Regions from separate parts of the Homo sapiens genome. Here all the other regions are linked to region 2. Evidence: promoter capture Hi-C in human tissues and cell types (Jung and others, 2019). All regions are on one chromosome and are shown on one strand. The core of a region is centred on a gene start or on the middle of the fragment in contact, and the rest is flanking DNA. Distances in the headings are between cores, read along the strand shown.

What was found. Contacts are between HindIII fragments. The study calls those that stand out against the background at their distance.
Region 1: a contact is called between a fragment that was not itself captured here and the fragment with the promoter of ADORA2A in region 2, in 3 of the 25 tissues and cell types used here (bladder, lymphoblastoid cells and stomach).
Region 3: a contact is called between a fragment that was not itself captured here and the fragment with the promoter of ADORA2A in region 2, in 2 of the 25 tissues and cell types used here (dorsolateral prefrontal cortex and lymphoblastoid cells).

Annotation. Positions count from the first base shown.
Region 1 is chr22:24,561,199-24,564,594 of GRCh38, forward strand. The region is part of intron 2 of SNRPD3 (small nuclear ribonucleoprotein D3 polypeptide); the gene reads left to right. Among named protein-coding and RNA genes, the nearest start is that of SNRPD3, 6.9 kb to the left of the region's middle. RefSeq lists an enhancer at 715-1,216. The HindIII fragment of the contact is 9,525 bases long and covers 1-3,396 here.
Region 2 is chr22:24,426,100-24,429,914 of GRCh38, forward strand. It overlaps ADORA2A (adenosine A2a receptor), which reads left to right and starts at 1,500. Exons shown (of 3, transcript NM_000675.6): 1 at 1,500-1,647. The region is part of intron 18 of SPECC1L-ADORA2A (SPECC1L-ADORA2A readthrough (NMD candidate)); the gene reads left to right. ADORA2A-AS1 (ADORA2A antisense RNA 1) reads right to left here. Exons shown (of 7, transcript NR_028484.3): 7 at 3,107-3,815. RefSeq lists a silencer at 1,581-1,690 and enhancers at 3,127-3,286, 3,361-3,815. The HindIII fragment of the contact is 18,723 bases long and covers 1-3,815 here.
Region 3 is chr22:24,202,278-24,205,683 of GRCh38, forward strand. No RefSeq gene overlaps it. Among named protein-coding and RNA genes, the nearest start is that of SUSD2, 22 kb to the left of the region's middle. RefSeq lists an enhancer at 3,013-3,406. The HindIII fragment of the contact is 4,705 bases long and covers 1-3,406 here.

The DNA of each region.
Region 1 (3,396 bases), core at 84-2,583, 130 kb after region 2:
AGTATCCAGGACTACCAGTGTGCCCCACCATACCTGGCTAATTTTTAAATTTTTTTGTAGAGACGGAGTCTTGATATGTTTTTCAGGCCAGTTTCAAACTCCTGGCCACAAGTGATCCTGCTGCCTCAGTCTCTCAAACTCCTGGAATTACAGGCATGAGCCACCACATCTGGCCTGTAAAGATTTTTTGTCTCTAAATATGATCACATTCTGAGGTGCTGGGTATTAGGACTTCAACAATGAATTTTTTTGAGGGATACAATTTAGCCTGTAACAGGATGTAGAGGCCTCACTGGGTCTATCAAAACCTAGGCACATTGAATAAGAGCCAGCAGACTGTGGCGTAGCTAAAGCTGGTGGTGGGTGAACTCTGAGCACAGTTTAGTTTGTTCAGCACATCTCAGGCTGTGAGGCTTGCCTGTCCTTCCCAGATCCAGTCATTCTGCCTTTTGGGAATGAGAACATCCTCTTAGCACTTTTCCTTGCTTGTTCAATAACATTTTCTGTTATAAAAGTGGGGTGGGACAAAATGTGGTGGCTACTCCTATAATCCCAACACTTTGAGAGGCTGAGGCAGGAGGATCACTTGAGCCCAGGGGTTCAAGACCAACCTGGGCAACATGACAAGACTTTGTCTGTAAAAAAAATAAAATAGACGGATGTGGTGGCACATGCCTGTAGTCCCAGCCATTCAGGTGGAGGCTGAGTTGGGACGATTACTTGAGCCCAGGAAGTCAAGGCTGCAGTGAGCTATGGAGTGCCACTGCACTCCAGCCTGGGCGACGGAGTGAGACCTAGTCTCACACACACACAAAAGCACACCACAACGATTCGGAAAAGATAAATAGAGGATCTCACTCTGTTGCCCAGGCTAGTCTTGCACTCCTGGACTTAAGCGATCCTCCCACCTTGGCCTCCCAAAGTATTGGAATTACAGGCCTAAGCCACACCTGCCCTGTTTTGGGGTTTTAGTATTTACTTTTTATTCTATCCTCTTTCAGAAATAGTTAGACCCTGTCTCTTCTGAAAAGCAAAAAAGTTTAAAAATTATCTGGATGTGGGGCTGGGCACTGTGGCTCACGCCTGTAATCCCAGCACTTTGGGAGGCTGAGGCGGGCAGATCACGAGGTCAGGAGATTGAGACCAGCCTGGCTAACACGGTGAAACCCTGTCTCTACTAAAAAAAATACAAAAAATTAGCCAGGTGTGGTGGCGGGCGCCTGTAGTCCCAGCTACTCGGGAGGCTGAGGCAGGAGAATGGCGTGAACCCAGGAGGCAGAGCTTGCAATGAGCCAAGATCGCGCCACTGCACTCCAGCCTGGGCGACAGAGCAAGACTCCATCTCCAAAAATAAAAAATATATTATCTGGATGTGATGGCTTATGCCTGTAGTCCCAGCTACTCCATAGGCTGAGGCAAAAAGGATCACTTGAGCCCACCCAGCAGTTCAGGCTGCATTAAGCTCTGGTCGCACCACTGCACTCCAGCCTGGGTGACAGAGCAAGACCCTATCTCTAAAATTAAAAAAATTCTATGGCAGGATAAAAGTAGATGCATAGATCATGGTGCAGGTAAGCTGGGGTAGAATGTAAAATGAAGCCAAGCAGTCAGTATCCAGAAATGTAAACCTGAATCTCTCTGTACATTGAATAAAGGTATATTCCAGTGTAAGATTAAGCAGGGAAGATCATCAGTTCCAAAATGCATAGTGTTCTTAAGTTAAAATAGCAATTGTGTGGATTTCCCTGGCACTCAGATACAGGAGACACTATTAGATGATATCCTCGACAACATCCCCATACAAAATACCCTTTTATGGTCCCTCAAGTAGTTTTAAAGTATCCTGTTATCTTAGCACTGTTTTTGACATTTGAAAATGCAAAATATGGCCAGGCACATTGGCTCATGCCTGTAATCCCAGCACTTTGGGAGGCTGGGCCAGGGGGATCACTTGATCCCAAGAGTTTGGGACCACCCTGGGCAACACAGTGAGACCCTGTCTCATATATGTGTGTGTGTGTGTGTGTGTGTGTGTGTGTGTGTGTATGTGTGTATGTATGTATATATGTATGTATATATATGTGTGTGTGTGTGTATATATATATATATTTTTTTTTTTAAAGGAAGAAGAGGAAATATGTGTATGTGAAACTCAGGATGAGGTCCCTGAAATGGTGCTTATCGGGTCAGAGGGTGTGCATCTGAGGTTAAGCTGGGAAGGCAGGGAGCTTTTGTTCTCCTTCTCATTCCGACAGCTGCAAGCCAAGCACTGGTGGCCAGTGCTGCAGGATAGGGCATCAGCTGCAGGATATGGCATGTTGGTCAAAATGCTGTTGGCATAAGTGAGAAAAATAACAATACTCCAAAATATGTCCCCAGTTTTATAAAAATGGACCCAAATTATAAATGATACAAGCAAATACAGAGAGTAATGGTCAAACCCATTTCACTACATTCAAAATGACTTAATTCTTAGAAGTTTTGGTGGGAGAATGTGGTGTAGAGCTCTGCACAAGCAGACATTGTGCTTTTGGGGCTTCAACATGACCACCCAATCACTGATGGGACTGTTTGAAATCTGTTTTGTTGGCTTTGGCATATAATAGCCATCTTTGGAAAACTGGTCTCTGTATGGAATATGGTCTTGTGTCACTGTATAAAAATGAGAACCCAAAAGAAGCTCTCACATGATTGGGTCAGAAAATTGCCCATAACTATTGCTAGGAAAGTTTTTGAAATCTCTGAATTCAATGTAATTGAATTTCTTTAGACACCTAGCCCTCTAGGTTGAAGGAAAACCAGTTTTTTAAACTTATCGTATACTTTTTTTTTCCTGTACTGTTTGTGTGTGGATTGCATTCATCATGCTCCTCTACCCCATAATACTTTTGTATTTCCTAAGAACAAAGATAGGTAGATGGCCTTAGTTGGTATTCGTATTATAGCAGTGGCATCCAAGCACCTCTGCCTTTGTGTATGTGTGAAATTGTCCTAAAGAATGCATTTCTGGTGTATTGACAGGCCTGAGACACCCCAACACACCTTCACAGTCCTGGAGCTAGCTTTCTCCATCTTGGCCCCAGGTATCTAAGAAAGTCCCACCACTTTGTGCTACAAAGATTCTCTCTCTCCCCCTCAGGATGTCATTTCAGTTGGGTACCTGGCTTATACCATATGTGTTTCATTGTGGCTGTTGAGGAAAGTTGATTAAACTGGGTGTTCCTGCCTGGAGTTGATTAGGATCTGGTTCACTCAAAAGTTGCTGCCTTGGGCTTGTGATACAAACACAGGTCAGGCTTATTAGCAAGCTCTAGCAGGCATGTGTGCAGTGAGACTGTGGGGTTTTGTCCACAGCAAGCTGTTCTTAGCCAGTGCTACAGGGAAAGCGAGAGCAGT
Region 2 (3,815 bases), core at 250-2,749:
CTGCAAAGTCCAGGTGAGGCCTGGGCAGTGCCTGCTGTGTGGGACCACAGCCCCTGGTGGCTCTCAGCTGTGTCCTGACACTCCAAAGAAGGTCTTAGTACCCTCTCACAGACCTAATACCCGAGCCACCTAACCCCAAATGAGCTAGAACTGCCTTCCCAACCGTGTTTGCGGGGTCTGTCTTGTCTATTGCAGCGCAAACAGAGCCCTGAGCACGCAGGAGAGCAGAGGAAGGACAGACAGAAGATGGATGGATGGATGAAGGCGGGAAGCACAGGCTGAGGGGATTTAGGGCATGTGTGGTGGGGGTGCTGTGGAGAGGAGACTGCACAGGCAGGAGCTGAGCTGGTGAATGGGAGGGTTCTAGCTCCCAGAAGGGTCTGGGCCATTGACAGGAGGGGCTTGGTCCTAGGAGGTGGGTGGTCCAGAGGTTGCAAGGAGCAGAGGAGCCCAGATGGGGAAGGGAATGGAGCTGGGGTGCAGAGAGGAGCCCCCACACAACTGCCCACATCCTGTGCAGAACCTGGGGCTCTGGGTGGTGGGAAGAGGCAGTTTCATGGCGGAGGAGGCCTGGGCCCCTGCAGCCTGGACTCCATGGATCTGGCCAGGGACTGGGGAGGATCAGGTGGAGAGAGGAGCAGCAGAGCAGCTGCCCCTCGTCCCAGCACAGGGGATGATGGGAGCCCAGGGAAGGCAGGACCCTGGCTTCGGGCATTTTCTCTGCTAGAATCTCTCGATACCTCTCTCCCTTCACCTTCTCCTCCAAGTCTCACCCAGATGATGTTTCTGTGAGTTGCCATGGGGATTCTCTCACCACCCCCCGCCAACACCCCGCAGGGGAAGCTTGTTCCAGGAGTCACTGGGCAGGGGCTGCTGCTGCTCTTCTGTGCCCACTCCTCGGATGTGCCGCTGCAGCCCTGGTCTCTGGCATCGGCCGTCACCTGGTGGAGAGGCTGCCGGAGCTGGCCAAGCAGAGGGAGGCCGATGGTGCCACTTGGTGTCTCCTCTGGCATCTGGGCAGGAGACTTCTCCCCAGAGGCCCCGGGCTGGTCTGCCCGTGTCACAGGAGGACTCGCCTCTGGTCCCTCAGTGGCCTCTGCAAACCCTGAGCCAGCCTGGGGGAGGCTGCTCAGTGGGGAAGAAGCAGTGGCCAGGCTCTGCTTGGTCACCCTGCCCTCCTGTCAGCCTCCGGGGCTGCCTCGTCGCACCTGCCCAGGGACCCAACAGCCGGTCCTCACCCCTCCCATCCTCATTGCAGCCACCCTGGGGCATTGTGAGGCCCTGCACCCAGCACTGCCCCTTCAAGCCTCCCACAGGGTCCCGCCCAGGACTCCTGGGCTCTGTGTCCGCGGGGCCATCTAGAAACACTCCCTTGTCCCCCCTTCAGCGGCATAGTACCTGTTGCCCGCCATCTGAGGGAGGTGCAGGTGCCAATCCTTCACGTGACGTGACGTGGCTCACCACAGCCTGTGTACATGTGAGCAGCCGCGTGCAGAGGGGAAGCTCTGCCTGGGCCTCAGGGACTGTGACATGGAGCAGGAGCCGCCCCCAGCCAAGCTGCTTTCAGCACAGCGTGGGCCCCCAGCACCTTGGTGCGGGGTGCGGCCCCTCGGAGGAGGGCTGTCAGGTGAAGCCTCGTGTGAGGGGGTGAGTGGCCCCCAGGCGGGGAGGAGGGGGTGCTGTGGCCTTCCTGGCCCCTAGCCTGGACACATGGGGGTGTGGGGAGCAGGAGCTGGGGCCCCCAGCACTGGCCCCGGGGCTGCGATGTGGGGGCTGCTCTGTGAGGCAGGCTCAGAGCCTTAGCCTCCAGCTGCAGGGAGCTGGGTCTTGGCCCCATCTTGCCCACATCCTGCCACCAGGAGCAGAGAGCTGCAGCTGCACCCGGGCTGTGGGGGAGGGATGCCAGGTGTATCTCTGGGTCCCGGGCCCAGCCTGCACCCAGCGCCTGAAGTAAGGGCCACCGGGCAGCCCCGGAGGTCAGGAGGGAAGTGGAGCCCGTGCTGGGTGGCTGCTTACCACTGGGCAGTGAGGAAGGCACCTGCGCTGATGAGTTTGGAAGGGGTATGGGGATCCTGGGGCCCTGGGTTCTGGGAGGTTCATGCCCAGGCCCCCCTGGGCCATCCCAAAAGCCAGTCATAGTGGGGCCCACAACCTGCCGTGCCCTGCCGAGCTCCCGCAAGCCACTTGTTGATGCTTCTCAGTCCACCCCATGCCTCTCAACCGTTTCCTCCTAGACTAGGTCTCTTCATGGCGTTTCTGGGAGAATTCCTCAGTACTAGCTTCAGATCCCCAGTCGTCTCTTCCACTGTACGTGTGCCTGAAGCTCACCACATCCCTTACTTCAGTCCTTCTATTTTTCAGTCCCTGGATTTTGTATTATTTCTTGTTCATATCCACCTGTCCTTGTTTCATTTCCGCCAGTCGGTTCAGAAGTTCTCATTCTTGTCTACGGATGCCATTCCTTTCTTTGCCTCTTTGGAGATTCTAAAGGTCTCTGAAATCATTATTAGATTACTGTATTACCTTCCTTCCTACTGGAATGAATTCACCTCCATGTTTTTTATTCTGTTGCTTACCTTTCTTAGCCTTCATATACCTCTTGCGCTTTGAAATTGATTTGCGACTCCTCTTAGCTGAGCCAATGTTGTGGAGACAGGGAGTGGCCTGCAGTGCCTGAAACTGCAGGGCAGCAGCCGCCTCCCAGGAATGTCCTGGGTCCTTTCCTCCTTTGAGGTCCCCTGCCATATGCTCAGATGGGGCCAGGCACAGCAACGGGGGCACACCTCCCTTTGGCCCAGCAGTTGGGGTGCTGCCAGGCCTGGTGGAGGTACTTGGTAAACATTTGTTATGGAAAAGCAGCAGGAGGGTTCTAAGGCTGGGATTCTGGAGCCCAGGAACAGGCCAGGCATGGCTGGAGCGGGTCCGAGTCCGTGCACTGTGTCCTGTATGTTGCTCTTAGCCGCACTCAGGAGCAGATGTGCAGGTCACTGCCTAGAAGCTGGTGGGCACCTCCGTGCAGCAGGCTCTGGGGGGTATAGCCACCATCTGGGCATGTGTACAGAGGGCCTTGCTAGTGCGACATATGAGGAACCAGAAGATGTGTGGGTTTTGATTAAATGGAGTTTTAATTAAAGTGGCCAGGTTGGGGGAGGTGAGGAGGAAGGCAGGAAGCAGCAGCAGTTTTGAGTCTGACCGCGTGGAATCCTATAAGGTGGTTCTTTCAAGAGGCATTATGCACATTCCGCAGCATGTGTCCCCTGTCTGTATGGGGCAGCATCTGCCCTCTGATCTGTCCCCAACAAGGGGTAATCACAGAGAAGTATTACATTATTAATATTTAATTTCCCCTCCTGGTTAGCAACAGATGACTCAAGGAGTAATTAGATGCACAGAGCCAACAGAGAGGGATAGGAAATTGCCAGATCCTGGCCCCGCCCCCTCCCCGGGGCCTCTGACCTTCCTGTCACTCTGGGAGGCTTCTGAGGGAGGGGAGCTGGAGGCCCAGGAGCCTTCCTGCTGCTGTGCTCTCTGTGCGCACGGCCGCAGCCCTACACCACCTTCCAGTGCTCTTGGTGAGGCTGAGAGAGGTCGCTTCGTGCCTTTGGGCCTCAGTTTCCTCATCTGTAAAATGGGCTTCCTGGGACCAGCAAGATCACAGATGACAGTCATTTCCCAAGCTCCTAAGCAGGCTGCACAAGCTGTGTCTGAGGGTCCAGTGCAGTGCCTGGCCTCTAGGCAGGTGCCCCCTGGGACGCGTAAGGTTTGGCAGCTCAGCAGTGACTGGCATCGTGGCCAGCTGACTCTGTGTTGCTCCC
Region 3 (3,406 bases), core at 629-3,128, 220 kb before region 2:
CTATTTACTTACCTAGCCGCTTGCTAAGAACACACCACACTCACTTATCTGGTCATATATTTCCTTAGAAGCTTCAGAGGCCAGATCCTGATACGGACCAGACACCTCTAGCCATGACGGCACCGGCCCTTTCACCAGATGAAACAATAATTCAAGACAAGCCATTGGAGTGAGTCACGCCACCTGATACCTCCCAGCCCCTCTGCCTTTTCTGCATTCCAAATCCTCTCTTAAAATACCCCCGCATTCGGGGCCAGGCGCGGTGGCTCACGCCTGTAATCCTAGCATTTTGGGAGGCCGAGGTGGATCACGAGGCCAGGAGATCGAGACCATCCTGGCTAACACGGTGAAACCCCGTCTCTACTGAAAATACAGAAAAAAAAAAAAAAAAAATTAGCCAGGCTTGGTGGCGGGCACCTGTAGTCCCAGCTACTCAGGAGGCTGAGGCAGTGGAATGGCATGAACCCAGGAGGCAGAGCTTGCAATGAGCAGAAATCGTGCTACTGCACTCCGGCCTGGGTGACAGAGCGAGACTCCCTCTCAAAAAACAAACAGAAACACCTGCATTCTCTCCACAAACTGAAGAGTGTAAATTTTTGGAAAGAATTACACTCACTCCTCCCTTGCTAGCATGGATAATCACATCTCACTCTCTCTTCTTATCACACCTCACTCTTGTTACATGGGCTTCTTTTTACAAGTAAGCAGCGGACCCTTTTGCCGGTTGCAAATCAGGGTATGAATGTGGCGAGAAATGGAGTATACCCTCTGTTTATTTAGGTTTTCCTTAATTTCTCTCAATTATGCTTTGCAGTGGTCAGTGCAGAAGTCTTGCATATCTTTGTTAGTTTTACATCTAGGTTTTTAACTTTTTTATGCTATTGTGAAAGGAAAATAAAAACTCAGGACCCCAGTTCACTATACCAAAAAAAAATTAAGTTGAATGCTGAGCCATGCAAGCAGCTACCTTTCCCTTTGTTCCTAAGCAGATAGCTACAGATAAAAGGTTCCAGGCTCAGCTGGGCGCGCTGGCTCACGCCTGTAATCCCAGCACTTTGAGAGGCCAAGGTGGGTTGATTACCTGAGGTCAGGGGTTCGAGACCAGCCTGGCGAACATGGTGAAATCCCATCTCGACTAAAAATACAAAAAAAAGTAGCCAGGCGTGGTGGTAGGCGCCTGTAATCCCAGCTACTTGGGAGGCTGAGGCAGGAGAATCACTTGAACCCAGGAGGTGGAGGTTGCTGTGAGCCAAAATTGTGCCACTGCACTCCAGCCTGGGTGACAGAGTGTCTCAAAACACCACCACCACCAACAACAACAATGCCCAAATCTGACTGGGTGCATGGCACACGGCTGTGATCCCGGCACTTTGGGAGGCAGAGGTGGGCATATCTGAGTTCAGGGGTTCGAGACCAGCCTGGCCAATATGGTGAAACCCCATCTCTACTGAAAATACAAAAATTAGCCAGGAGTGGTGGCATGTTCCTGTAATCCCAGCTACTCGGGAGGCTAAGGTAGGAGAATCGCTTGAACCCAGGAGGCAGAGGATGCAGTGAGCCAAGATAGCACCACTGCTCTCCAGCCTGGGTGAAGGAGTGAGACTGTCTCAAAAAAAAAAAAAAAAAAAAGGTTCAATACCTCCAGTCTATGTTCACCTTATCTTGAGTTCAATATCTCCACTCGATGTTCACCTAATCTTGTGTAAAGTGCTGATTTACTGATTTACTGAGCACAAGTATCAGAGGCGTGTGAACCAGAGCAACTCCATCTTGAATAGGGGCTGGGTAAAATGAGGATGAGACCTACTGGGCTGCATTCCCAAGAGGTCAAGTCATTCTTAGTCACAGGATGAGATAGGAGGTCGGCACAAGATACACGTCATAAAGACCTTGCTGATAAAACAGGTTGCAGTAAAGAAGCCAGCTAAAACCCACCAAAACCAAGATGGCAACGAGAGTGACCTCAGGTCTTCCTCAGTACTACACTCTCACTGGCGCCATGACAGTTTACAAATGCTGTGGCAATGTCAGGAAGTTAACCTATGTGGTCTAAAAAGGGGAGGCATAAATAATCTATCCCTTGTTTCACATATAATAAAAAATAACCATAAAAATGGGCAACCAGCTGCCCTCCACACTGCTCTGTCTATGGAGTAGCCATTCTTTTATTCCTTTACTGTCTTAATCAACTTACTATGGACTTGCCCTGAATTCTTTCTTGCTGGAGATCCAAGAACCTTCTTTGGGGTCTGGATTGGGACCTCTTTCTGGTAATGCAAGAGGAATACGTAATTTACTCTTCCCCTACCTGCTCCTTTGTGCTTTCTTTCTCTCTCTCTCTCTCTCTCTCTCTCTCTCTCTATATATATATATATATATATATGGCTGTTTGTAAGAAAGAGCGCCCAACTGAAATCAGCCAGAAGCCCCTCTCAGGTTTATTCTCTAGAATAAACCTGTCTTTAACTGTTGAGCCACTTTTCATGTTTCCTTCCTCTTTCTTTAACTGTTATAGTCATTATCTGTAGATACTCGAGAAACTGTTAGAAATAGGTGAATTGAGCTATATATATAGAGAGAGAGAGAGAAAGAAGGAGAGAGAGAGAGGGAGAGAGAGAGAGAGACACTGGGTCTTGCTCTGTCACCCAGGGTGGAGTACAGTGGGGCAATCATGGCTCACAGTAGCCTGGACCTCCTGGGCTCAATCGATCCTTGTGCTTCAGCCTGCTGAGTAGCAGGGACTGCAGGCATGCACCACCATATCTGGCCAATTTTTGTATTTTTTTGTAGAGATGGGGTTTCACGATGTTCCTCAGGCTGGTCTTGAACTCCTGGGCTCAAGCAATCTTCTCACCTCACTCTTCTTTTTTAAATTTTGAAGCCCTCAAAGTCACCTTTGGGGAAAGGCACAGACCATAGGCTGCTTCTGTGATTCCATTTTTTTTCCCCTCCTGGGCATTGTCCTTAACCTTGGCAAAATAAACTCTTAAGTTGATTGAGACCTGTTTCAGATGCTTTTTGATTCACACTACTACAAGCGATTTTACTTCAAAAAAGGTTTTTTTGTTTATGGCTGGTACGTAGAAATAACATTGATTTTTGCATATATTCCTTGATTCCAATTGATGCGGCTTTGATGACTGGAGGAACACCAGGGTTTTGGTTTTGTACTGATAGGATTAATGACACCGACACATGTGGAATGGTTTTTTGTTTGTTTTTAGCTTTTTATTTTTTTGAGACGGAGTTTCACTCTTGTTGCCCAGGCTGGAGTGCGATGGCACCATCTCAGCTCACTGCAACCTCCGCCTCCCAGTTTCAAGCAGTTCTCTTGGCTCAGCCTCCTGAGTAGCTGGGATTACAGACATGTGCTGCCACACCTGGCTAATATGTGTATTTTTAGTAC